3 separate regions of the Homo sapiens genome follow, and all the other regions are linked to region 2. The links are contacts of gene promoters, found by promoter capture Hi-C in human tissues and cell types (Jung and others, 2019). All regions are on one chromosome and are shown on one strand. The core of a region is centred on a gene start or on the middle of the fragment in contact, and the rest is flanking DNA. Distances in the headings are between cores, read along the strand shown. Region 1 overlaps GALNS (galactosamine (N-acetyl)-6-sulfatase). Region 2 holds the start of ANKRD11 (ankyrin repeat domain containing 11). Region 3 holds the start of RNF166 (ring finger protein 166).

What was found. The method cuts DNA at HindIII sites, captures the fragments that hold promoters and counts their contacts. A contact is called where the count stands out against the background at its distance.
Region 1: a contact is called between a fragment that was not itself captured here and the fragment with the promoter of ANKRD11 in region 2, in 1 of the 25 tissues and cell types used here (dorsolateral prefrontal cortex).
Region 3: a contact is called between the fragment with the promoter of RNF166 here and the fragment with the promoter of ANKRD11 in region 2, in 1 of the 25 tissues and cell types used here (lymphoblastoid cells).

Annotation. Positions count from the first base shown.
Region 1 is chr16:88,849,380-88,852,957 of GRCh38, forward strand. The region is part of intron 1 of GALNS (galactosamine (N-acetyl)-6-sulfatase); the gene reads right to left. Among named protein-coding and RNA genes, the nearest start is that of GALNS, 5.8 kb to the right of the region's middle. RefSeq lists an enhancer at 795-964. The HindIII fragment of the contact is 6,360 bases long and covers 1-3,578 here.
Region 2 is chr16:89,489,196-89,493,053 of GRCh38, forward strand. ANKRD11 (ankyrin repeat domain containing 11) reads right to left here and starts at 1,366. Exons shown (of 13, transcript NM_013275.6): 1 at 1,050-1,366. LOC101930112 (a long non-coding RNA gene) reads left to right here and starts at 1,775. Exons shown (of 2, transcript XR_933895.4): 1 at 1,775-2,191. It overlaps LOC101927863 (a long non-coding RNA gene), which reads right to left. Exons shown (of 5, transcript NR_188547.1): 5 at 3,208-3,438. RefSeq lists enhancers at 1-425, 426-940 and silencers at 222-291, 332-441, 522-571, 1,146-1,625, 1,826-1,915 and 1 more. The HindIII fragment of the contact is 15,043 bases long and covers 1-3,858 here.
Region 3 is chr16:88,704,470-88,708,214 of GRCh38, forward strand. It overlaps RNF166 (ring finger protein 166), which reads right to left and starts at 1,939. Exons shown (of 6, transcript NM_178841.4): 1 at 1,702-1,939. The coding sequence starts at 1,856. It overlaps CTU2 (cytosolic thiouridylase subunit 2), which reads left to right and starts at 2,034. Exons shown (of 15, transcript NM_001012759.3): 1 at 2,034-2,129; 2 at 2,667-2,741. The coding sequence starts at 2,062. RefSeq lists an enhancer at 1,414-2,051 and silencers at 1,673-1,952, 1,993-2,302. The HindIII fragment of the contact is 44,302 bases long and covers 1-3,745 here.

The DNA of each region.
Region 1 (3,578 bases), core at 563-3,062, 640 kb before region 2:
GTTCAAGCAATTCGCCTGCCTCAGCCTCCTGAGTAGCTGGAATTATAGGCACCCACCACCAAGCTCATCTAATTTTTGTATTTTTTTTATAGAGATGGGGTTTCACCATGTTGGCCAGGCTGGTCTTGAATACTGACCTCAGGTGATCCACCTGCCTCAGCCTCCCAAAGTGCTGGGATTACAGGTGTGAACCACCGTGTCAGGCCAACTTTTTTGTATTTTTGGTAGAGATGGAGTTTTGCCACGTTGCCCAGGCTGGTCTTGAGTGAACTGAGCTCAAGCAGTCCACCCGCCTCCACCTCCCAAAGTGCTGAGATCCCAGGTGTGAGCCACCACGCCCAGCCCTGAGATGGTTTATTTTGAAGTCACTGAAATGGCTTTTCTGAGGACAATGGAGGCTGGAATGAAAGGAGGACCTAGAGAGAGGTGTCCCCTGAAGCTGATGAGGAAGAAAGGGAGGTGGGAGGACAGGGGGCAGGACGCCCGCAGAGCTGCTCATGGGCTGAGAAGGGACCTTGGGCTCAGTGGCACCTAGTCACAGTGGGCGAATGCGCCCATGTCAGGGTGAGGTGCATCCCACTGAGGCAGCAGAAACCTGCAGTGCAGGCTGGGACGGTACAGCTCCCTGAGGCCAGCCTGAGGGGGACTGGCCACACACGCCCAAAGCTCCTTGCCCTCCACCTCCCCGAGTGCAGATTCATCCTCTCAGGTGGCTTCTGCACTTCCTGCTGTCTCCAGTCCAGGTGGGAGAGTACAGAATGGCAGGTGGGCCGGGGGCACAAGGCCTGGGATGGGAGGGAGCAGTATGTTTCGCCCGTTACACTGTCTGCCCATGCCCAGGACCACTGCTGGGCTCCCTTCGGGCTGGGAGTGAGGCCGCACATCTGAATACTGGGTGCCATGTGCCCGACCCTCCCTGCAGGCTGCGTCCTGAGGCTTCCCGAGGCGGGTCTGGCCTCCCCAGAAGGTCGGCAGTCAGCAGAGCTGCGTCCGGATCTGCTTGTGCTCACCTGGGTCATCCTCCTACCTGTTCCAGGCCACAAATAACATGAATGGATGCAGCGGAAAATGCTGTAAAGGGAGTGGGCTCCACGCTCATCACTCACCAGAAAATACTGCGGGGAGGAGTCCCAGGGCTTGAGGGAGGGGGCTCCACGCTCACCACTGACTCAGAAGATACCGCAAGGGAGCACTCTCGCTGGGAGGAGTCCCAGGTCTTGGCGACAGTCCTACTCACTGCCATGACTTACAACGGGGAGGGCATCAGCCAGGGGAGAAGGTGCGGGCGGGGCCGGGGAGACCAGCCGCAGCGTGGAACCCTCCCCAGGCGGAGCCACACGGGACGCTCGGGCTGCGAGCACAGGTGCGGGATGCTGACGGGGAAGCTGTGCGAGACTCAGTTCCCAGGGCTTTTGCCTAGGCTGGCAGTGCGGCCGCCTCTGCCTGGCATGTGCCGAGACTCTTTATGCCCAGAAGGAGGATGCTGGGCATAAATCGTGGCATGTGCAAAAACAGTGTGGCAAGGTGAGCTGCTCCTATCAGCGAACAGCGGGGGGACCTCCTGTTCCCAGACGCCAGCCGAGGGCAAAAACCTCCCACACATGTGCCTTCTGACCAGCCGAGGGCAACGTCCCACACGTGGGCCTTCTGAGGACAGCGTCCCAGGCTGCTGGGCCAGCTCTCATCTGCTGACCCTGTTCTTTCATTATTTATCGGCGCCTTTCTTGGCTATGAAAAGCAGGTGTGGACAGCCTCCCTGCAGAGTGAGCAGGTTACCATTGAACATCTAAAACCCCCACAGGGCACCACGGGCAGGAACCACCTTTCTTCTCTCCCTTAAAAGTCCTAAAAGGGCTGGATCCAGTGGTTCACGTCTGTTATCCCAACACTTTGGGAGGCTGAGGAGGGAGGATCGCTTGAGCTCAGGAAGTCAAGACCAACCTGGGTCTCACAGACAGACACTGTCACTAAAAAAAACTTTTTTTTTAATTAGCCGGGTGTGGGGATTCCGTTCCAACATGGCTGAATAGGAACAGCTCCGGGCTGCAGCTCCCAGCGTGATTGACGCAGAAGACGGCGATTTCTGCATTTCCAACTGAGGTGCCTGGTTCATCCTACTGGGACTGGTTGGACAGTGAGTGCAGCCCATGGAGGGTGAGCCGAAGCAGGGTGGGGCATCGCCTCACTCAGGAAGTGCGAGGGGTTGGGGGATTTCCCTTTCCTAGCCAAGGGAAGCCGTGACAGACTGCACCTGGAAAATCAGGACACTCCCGCCCAAATAGTGCGCTTTTCCAACGGTCTTAGCTAACGACACACCAGGAGATTATATCCCGGGCCTGGCTCGGAGGGTCTCATGCCCACGGAGCCTTGCTCACTGCTAGCACAGCAGTCTGAGATCCACCTGCGAGGTGGCAGCCTGCCTGGGGAGGGGCGTCCGCCATTGCTGAGGCTTGAGTAGGTAAACAAAGCGGCAGGGAAGCTCGAACCGGGCAGAGCCCACCGCAGCTCTGCAAAGCCTGCTGCCTCTGTAGACCCCACCTCTAGGAGCAGGGAATAGCTGAACAAAAGGCAGCAGAAACTTCGGCAGACTTAAACGTCCCCGTCTGACAGCTCTGAAGAGAGCAGTGGTTCTCCCGGCACAGTGTTTGAGCTCTGAGAACGGACACATTGCCTCCTCAAGTGGGTCCCTGACCCCCGTGTAGCCTAACTGGGAGATACTTCCCAGTAGGGGCCCACTGACACCTCATACAGGCAGGTGCCCCTCTGGGACAAAGCTTCCAGAAGAAGGATCAGGCAGCAATATTTACTATTCTGCAATAGTTGCTGTTCTGCAGCCTCCACTGGTGATACCCAGGCAAACAGGGTCTGGAGTGGACCTTCAGCAAACTCCAACAGACCTGCAGCTGAGGGACCTGACTCTTATAAGGAAAATTAACAAACAGAAAGGAATAGCATCAACATCAACAAAAAGGACATCTACGCCAAAACCCCATCTTTAGGCCACCAGCATCAAAGACCAAAGGCAGATAAAACCACAAAGATGGGGAGAAACCAGAGCAGAAAAGCTGAAAATTCTAAAAACCAGAGCACCTCTTCTCCTCCAAAGGATCGCAGCTCCTCGCCAGCAAGGGAACAAAGCTGGACAGAGAATGACTCTGACGAGCTGACAGAAGTAGGCTTCAGAAAGTCGGTAATAACCAACTTCTCCGAACTAGAGGAAGATGTTTGAATCCATGGTAAGGAAGCTAAAAACCTTGAAAAAAGATGAGACGAATGGCTAACTAGAATCAACAGTGTAGAGAAGACCTTAGATGACCTGATGGAGCTGAAAACCATGGCACCAGAACTACGTGACGCATGCACAAGCTTCAGTAGCCGATTCGATCTAGTGGAAGAAAGGGTATCAGTGATTGAAGATCAAATTAATTAGCCGAGTGTGGTGATGGGCGGCTATAATCCCAGCTACTCAGGAGGCTGAGGCAGGAAAATTGCTTGAGCCCAGTAGTTTGAGGCTGCAGTGAGCTGTGATCGAGCTACTGCACTCCAGCCTGGGTGACAGAGCCAGACCTTGTCTCAAA
Region 2 (3,858 bases), core at 116-2,615:
GGCAGGGCCAACCCTACACACACACACACACGCGCGCGCGCGCGCGCGCGCACACACATACACCACACACACAGCTACCGCCCTGCCAGGGGATGATGAAATGAGGAACGGAAATTAACATTTCAGGCAACGTCTCACATTGTTCCTTGAGGCCAAGGGCTGCTGTTGCAGCCGCCACCGCCACCGCTTTCCTCCCAGCCACCCCCCACACCCGCCCGCCTACCCTCCCCCTAACACCCCCCACACGGCTGCCCGCATTCCTGCCCCTCCTCGGCCTACGCGCGCCTCCTGCAACCCCGACGCCCCCAGGTCCCCAGTTCGCCCTCCCCCTCCGGCTCGGAGCCCGAGAGCCGCCTGCTCTCATTTCAAAACAGCGATAATAATAGGGACGCTGAGAATAACAACTACGACCAGCACGGCGAAGGCGCCCCTCTCGCGGGTCAGAGGTCGGCGCCCCAGCTCCGCAGAACCCGGCGCCCGGCCAGCGCCCCCTGGCAGCCCCTCCCGGCAGCCTCAGGTCCCCAAGACCTGCAGGCCCGCCCCGAAGCCCCCCGTCCGCCCCTCACGGCCGCTCCGAGCCCCCGAGGCCCGCCCCGGAGCCCCCTGTCCGCCTCTCACGGCCGCCCCGGGCCCCCACGGCCCCCAGGCCCGCCCCGGAGCCCCCAATCGGCCCCTCAGAGCCGCCGCGGGCCCCCGGCCACCCAGGCCCGCCCGGAGCCCCCGTCCGCCCCTTACGGCCGACCCAAGCTCCGCCGACCTCCCAGGCCCCCCCCGGAGCCCCCTATGGGCCCCTCACGGCCACCCCGGGCCCCCAAAGACCCCCGGCTGCCCCGAACCCGGACCCGTAGGCCCGCTCCGGGACCCATTATTGGTCCCTCACGATCGCCCCGGGCCCCCAAAGACCCCCGCCCACCCGGCCCCGACCCCCCAGGCCCGCCCGGAGGCCCGCGGCGCAGCTCCGTCGCCGGGGAAGGCCTGCAGGCCGCAAGGCCGCGCGAATGCCCCGTGCCCGCCCCGACCACCGCCCCCAGACCAGCGGCGCCTCTCACCGTGCTCCGAGGGCTGCGCGGCTCCGCGACGGCTCAGCGGCGGGGCGCGGGCGCTGCCCATGCAGCCCGCGGCCGCGTTTCCCGGGCCGCGCGGCCCGAGCGGCAAGGCGGCGGCGGCGGCGGCGCGGGCTCGGGCCCGGCAGAGCTGCGAGGGACGGCGGGAGGCGAGCCCGCCCCTCGGGCGCGCCCACGGCTCGGGCGAGAGCCGCGGCTCCCGGTGCGGACGCTACTGATGGGGCGTCTGGCCGCGGGCTCGGCGGCGGCGCCTCCCCGGCTGGGGCCCTCGGTCCATCGCGCACCGTCTCAGGGCGGCCTCTGGCTCCAGGACCCAGCGGCGGCTGCGGCGGGAGCCGGCCGCATGAGACGCTCCCGCCCATTGGCCCGCCGTATCCGCCACCGCCATTGGCCCGCCCCGGCCGGCCGCAGGGGCTGTGCACGTCACAGCGCCGTGAGTTAGTGCGCTAATGGAGTGAAGGAGAGAGGCGGGATTGACAGCCTCTCTGGCGGTCCGGAGGCGGGACTAGGAGGACGTCCCGGTAACGATTGGGCAGGGTCCTGCGTAAGGGCGCATGCGACACTGGAAGTAGCGAGCAACTGGATTGGCTGCCTCCGTCGCAAAGGAGGGTGGGTCTTGCATTCTCGGGCCTGACGATTGGTCTTTCCAAGTGCCGGAAGCAACAGGGATGTCGTCTGGAAACAAAATCTGGTATTGAAGCGCAGGGAGACAAAACGTCCACCTCTAGAGCCGAGGCGGCGGTTGCCTGTCGCGTGCCCGTGGTCTTCTGCCTGCCCCCGGACATCTCGGGCCACGTCCGGCCCGGCCTCCGGCCGCGCTGCCCTAACGGGCGTCACGGGGCATGAAGAGCTCTGGGCGGCTGCGAGGGGAGGGTACCGGGGCAGCGGGGCGGTCGCTCGGGGCTCCCGCGCGGTGACTCTTGCTCTGCCGTCGAAGAGAACGGCCCTCGGGCGCGTCGCGGCCGCGGCTCCAGAGCCCCTGGGCCTCGCGCTCTGAGAGCCTGAGCCGCTTGAGGAGGCCAAGCGCCCACGAACCGCATTCCCTGCCTTGCTAGTTAGTTCTCCAACACGCGAAAAAGGTAGACGAGGACTGGTTTTCTTTGCAGCTAAAATGAATCAAGCCTCTGGTAAGTGTGGATCCTGTTCTAAGTGCACCTGTGTTCTCCTCCAGAACTAAACCAAAAAGCAAGGTGAACAAAATCGGTGCTCCTTCAGTTTCTTCTTTAGTTCTGCATGTTACTGGGGACTAAGACAACGGGTAAGCAAACTATTTATAGGCCTCAATTTACGAAATAACGGAATTGCAAAGTCCGGAGTGGATAGGACCGTGAGGACGGTCTTTTTTCTTGGGCAACACGCATTATGGTCGAGAGATCAGTTGTTAAACCGCCCCTGTTCAAATCCCAGCCCTACCAGTGACTAGCGGTCACCCTGTAGGCTTTGTCTCTCAGATCTTCAGTTTCTTGGTGGGTAAAATGGGAACTACAAGTAGCACCTATTCTTTTTTTTTTTTTTTTTTGAGTCAGGGTCTCACTCTGTCGCCCATGCTGGAGTGCAGTGCTAACTGCAGCCTCAGCTTCCCGGGCTCAGAGGATCCTCCCACCTTAGCCTACTAAGTAGGTGGGACCACAGTCAGGCATCACCACACCCGGCTAATTTTTTAAATTTTCGTAGAGATAGGCTCTCTGTGTGTTTCCCAGGCTGGTCTTGAAATCCTGGACTCAAGCGACCCTCCCTCCTCAGCTTCCCAAAGTGCTGGGATTAGAGGCATGAGCCACGGTGCGGGCCAGGAGCACCTATTTCATAGGCCCATCGGGAAGATTAAATGAAGGGGCTGTGGAGGCTGTAGCACGGTGCTTGGCACGTATGTGAGCTCTGGGGAAACATTAGTTATGCTATAACTGGACCTTCAGCCTTCTCTAGGCAGCCAGATTTCGGGCTCCACCCACAACTAGTCACGCCATTGGATGAGGGGTGAGCGCCTGATAAAAACAGCCGGCGTATGCGCTGATGTGCGTTCACGAAGAGGTGATCCAAGTGTTTCCATATTTGCCTCACTGGACGAAGTATTTGGTAAAATTGACGAAATTCAGAGTCCTGGACCCCATCATCACCTATGGAATTATTCTAGATGAGAGGGGACTAGGCATTGGCATTTTTTTATTTTGGTCCCTTACAATACTCATCATTGGGAAAATTTGAAAAACATCAACCTAAGCCGTCATGCTCGCACTCGAGAATGTTTCCCCTAGGCTGATTGACGGGCAGTGGTATTCACAGGTGCGGTCAGCGCAGTCCAGCTTCAAACTTCCGGGGATCAAGTGATCCTCCCGCCTGAGGAGCTGAGATTACAGGCCTGCACCACCATGCTCATCTATCAGGGGAATTTAAAGTGCAAAATATTAATATGAGTAAGCAGGCAGTTGGCCTTCGAAACAGAATCTGAAAATACACTAAGGTAAAAGCAAACTGAATTTCGACAGAAGTAGAACGTGTATGGTAGAGAAAAGAAATGCAGAGTAAAGGGAAAGGAGCCAGGAAATGCACTAATTAGAAAATCTTGGCCAGGCGCGGTGTCTTATGCCTGTAATCCCAGCACTTTGGGAGGCCGAGGCGGGTGAATCATGAGATCAGGAGTTCGAGACCAGTCTGGCCAATATGGTGAAACCCCATCTCTACTAAAAATATGCAAAAATTAGCTGGGTGTGGTGGTGGCGGGTGCCTGTAGTCCCAGCTGCTCAGGAGGCTGAGGCAGGAGAATCTCTTGAACTCGGGAGGCGGAGGTTGCAGTGAG
Region 3 (3,745 bases), core at 689-3,188, 780 kb before region 2:
ATGGAAACTACATTTTAGGAAAAGACATATTTGAAAAAGAAGGGCAAAGACCAATTTGTGCAGGTTAGGAAAGTGGAGATGCTGTGGCCGACCACACGGTGAAGGTGTTGGCACCCAAAGCCTACGGGAGGCTTTTCTAAAACAAGGCCTAAGTCAAGCCTCACAGCGCTCAGTAACAGATGAGAAGGTGCGGAACACACCTTCAAACACCCGCTACCTGCTCACAAGAAGGAAGTCCTGCCAGGCGCGGTGGCTCACGCCTGTCATCCCAGCACTTTGGGAGGCTGAGACGGGCAGGTCACCGGAGGTCAGGAGTTCGAGACCAGCCTGGCCAACATGGTGAAACCCCTTGTCTACTAAAAATACAGCAATTAGCCGGGCGTGGTGGCGGGTGCCTGTAATCCCAGCTACTCTGGAGGCTGAGGCAGGAGGATCACTTGAACCCAGGAGATGGAGGTTGCGGTGAGCCGAGATGGCGCCACTGCACTCCAGGCTGGGTGACAAGAGCAAGACTCTGTCTCAAAAAAAAATATTCCCGTTCAGAGGCTGCCCCCCCAAAATGTCACGGCTAAGTGAGATGGAGGAGCAGGGGCAGAGCCTGTAGCAGCCTCACAAGAGAAGTAGGTAGAGCTGTCCCAGCGTGGGCAGGCGCCTGTGCTGCCTGACACAGGTAATGAAGGCAGCTCTGCATCCTGACACTGGCCCTGCCACCTCCGTGGGTGACCAGCACACATCCACCTAGCAGTCCCAGCTCCCTCTGTACCAGGAGCCCCTGAAGTCAGCTGACTTTGCTTGCAAAATGTTCTAGAGCCTCCTACCAGTCTGGGTGCACCCCCCTCCACTCCACCACCTCAGCAGCTTGGATGTCTGCGGGGAAGCCCTCCTGCTCTCTCTCTCCCCTGCCACTGCTGATTTTGCTCAAGAGCTGTATTATTCAGCACTTAGGAGGGAGCAGACACTGATCTAGGCTTCCTCCCAACGGGGCTGGCAGCTCCAGAATACTTGAGCACAGCTCCCCGCCAGGAGAGCCACGTCCTCCAGTTTCTGTTCCTGAAACACCCTGGAGGAGCCGGCTGTGAGCCCTGGTGCAGCTGGAAACCCCAGCAAGGTGGTCAGTGTCTGCTCCTCTGTGGACCAGCCTGCCTGGCTACTCAGTGATCGGTGTGACTCAAGTTCTCCTTCAAACAAAACTAAGAACATCAGACTCCAAACAAGCCCCTCTAAACTTTAGGGAACTCCTTTCCTCTGTAGTCAAAACAGGCAGACAGCGGGTCCGAACAAGAGTTGATAGCAAAAACTACAAGTTATTTATTTACAACTGCCCATTCCAGCCGCACAAGCCCAAATCCACCACCACTGGCGGAGCGGTGGCACCTGCTGCCCTCTGAGTACCGGAGCGCCCGCCGCAGCCGCCGGGGACCCCGAGCTTGGGCAGGGCCGCAGGTCGCCCGGTGAACCGAAGCAGCAGTCGGACCGGGCGCCTGCGGCTGGCGCGAAGGAGGCTGGGCGGGGGATGAACGCGCCCAGAGGGCAGAGGCGGCGCGGCACAGGGAAACCCGGACCCCACGCGCCCCGAGGCCCCGGCGCCCCGAGTCCCCGCGCGCCCAGTCCGGAGCTGCACCGGGGCGGCCGCCGGCCTCGCGACCCCTCCCGCGGCGGGGCACGGCCCCCTCCCCGCGGCCCCTGGGCGGGCGCGCTCACGTGTGGCCGCAGCTGCCGATGGCCACGGGCCGGTGATAGACCTCCAGGCAGATGGGGCAGGTGTACTGCGCCTCCAGGCCGCTGTCGCCGCCCGCCGGCCCGGCCGGCGGCTGCCGCTGCTGAGCCGAGGCCACCAGGCTGCGGAACATAGCCATCCCGGGGCCAGGCCCGCGCCGCCCGCCGCCCGCTGTCCTGGCCCGGGCCGGCCCGCTAGTCACAGCCGCTACTGCGCCGCGCTGACGTCATCGTAGGGCGCCGCCCCCAGCCGGGCTTCGCGGCCGTCACGGCGCCACTCCGACGTCATCGGGGCGCGCCCTCGCGCTGTCGCCGCCACAGTCTGCGACGGGACCCGGCGTGCCCATGTGTCAGGTGGGCGAGGACTACGGGGAGCCGGCGCCTGAGGAGCCGCCCCCGGCGCCGCGGCCCAGGTAAGAGCTGGCGGCCGGACCCGCCAGGCCGCCCCTCGCCTTCCCGCCGCACTCCTGCCCCGAAGGGTCCCGGCCGGGCTTGCTCCGGGAAGCCCCGCGTGGAGAGCGGGACCTCGCTCCCTAGCACTCGGGGAATGCCTGTCAAGCGGTGACGGCCACCTAGAAGGGGACTTACTCCACTGGCTCGCGCCTCTCATCCTAGCAGCCACTGGGGACGGCTCTGCCGCTGACAGTGCTGTCCTTATTCGGAGAGAACTGGTGCCGTGAAGCTGTCTCGCCTCCCCGTGTCAGCCTTGGGAGACTGAAAAGCGGCCTTTATGTGCCCCCTGAGCCGGCTTTTCTAGGCTAAACATCCCCCCAGAGCCTTTGTTTTTCTTGAAGTTTGGACAGAACACAAGCCTGGGTTTGTGTGTGTACCGAGGTGCCTTTCTCTGACCCAACTCAGGGTGAGAAACAGGAGCTGTCTCCCCAAAGCCCACTAGGCGTGGGGAAGATGTGATCTGTGTTTCTCTCTTCTCCCCCCTCCCATCTCCAAAGCCGTGAGCAGAAGTGTGTGAAGTGCAAGGAAGCGCAGCCCGTTGTGGTGATACGAGCCGGAGATGCCTTCTGCAGGTGAGGCCTGGAGGTGGCTGAGACCCTGGCAAACATGGCCTCGCTAGCAGACAGGATAGCCGCAACTTGTGATGCTTTGTTAATTCTTTTTAAAAACATGTACTTACTTTATTCCTGCTCCTGATGGGGTCCCTCGTGCCCCTGGTGTTGAAGTGGAGGCGAAAGCATTGGTTTCCTGCTTGGGAAAGTTTCCCATGAGCTAGCCACAGATCCCCTGATGAGGTTTCTGATGGAACTTATGGGGACAGTTGGAAGTGGGGCCGTGGTGTCTAGACTGGGATAAGCTGTAGGAGGACCAGGCGTTTGGGGGCAGCTGGAATACATCTAGGGGCGGATCAGAGCATCTTGGGAACTTGGCAGATGGTCTGGGTGAAAGTTTTTAATCTCGTGTGAGATGCTTGTTTCATCTGTGGCAGGATAGAGGCTTGGAAGACCTCTAGCTTTCCCCCAGGCGCTTGTCATGTCTTTCTTGGCTTGTAGCCATTGTATTGTTCAGTTGTTTCCACTAGACTCATAGCTCCCTGAAGGGAGGACCAGGTCTCTCTCCTTTTAGCCCTCTTAATTCCCAGTGGTGGTGCGTGGTTTTTTTGTTGTTGTTGTTGTTTTTTTTGAGATGGAGTCTCCCTCTGTCACCCAGGCTGGAGTGCAACAGCTGGAGTGCATGATCCCAGCTCACTGCAACCTTTACCTCCTGGGTTCAAGTGATTCTCCTGCCTCAGCCTCCTGAGTAGCTGGGATTACAGGTGCCTGCCATCATGCCCGGCCAATTGTTTTTGTATTTTTAGTAGAGACAGGGTTTCACCATGTTGGCCAGGCTGGTTTCGAACTCCTGACCTCAAGTGATCCACCTGCCTCGGCCTCCCAAAGTGCTGGGATTACAGGCATGAGCCACCACACCTGGCCAAGATAGGTACTTCTTTAACCACCCAGGAGCATCTGAAATTGCCAAGAACACCAGGCTGCCGGCAGAATTCACTGAGGAGAGGCTGCTGTGGCTGTATGCT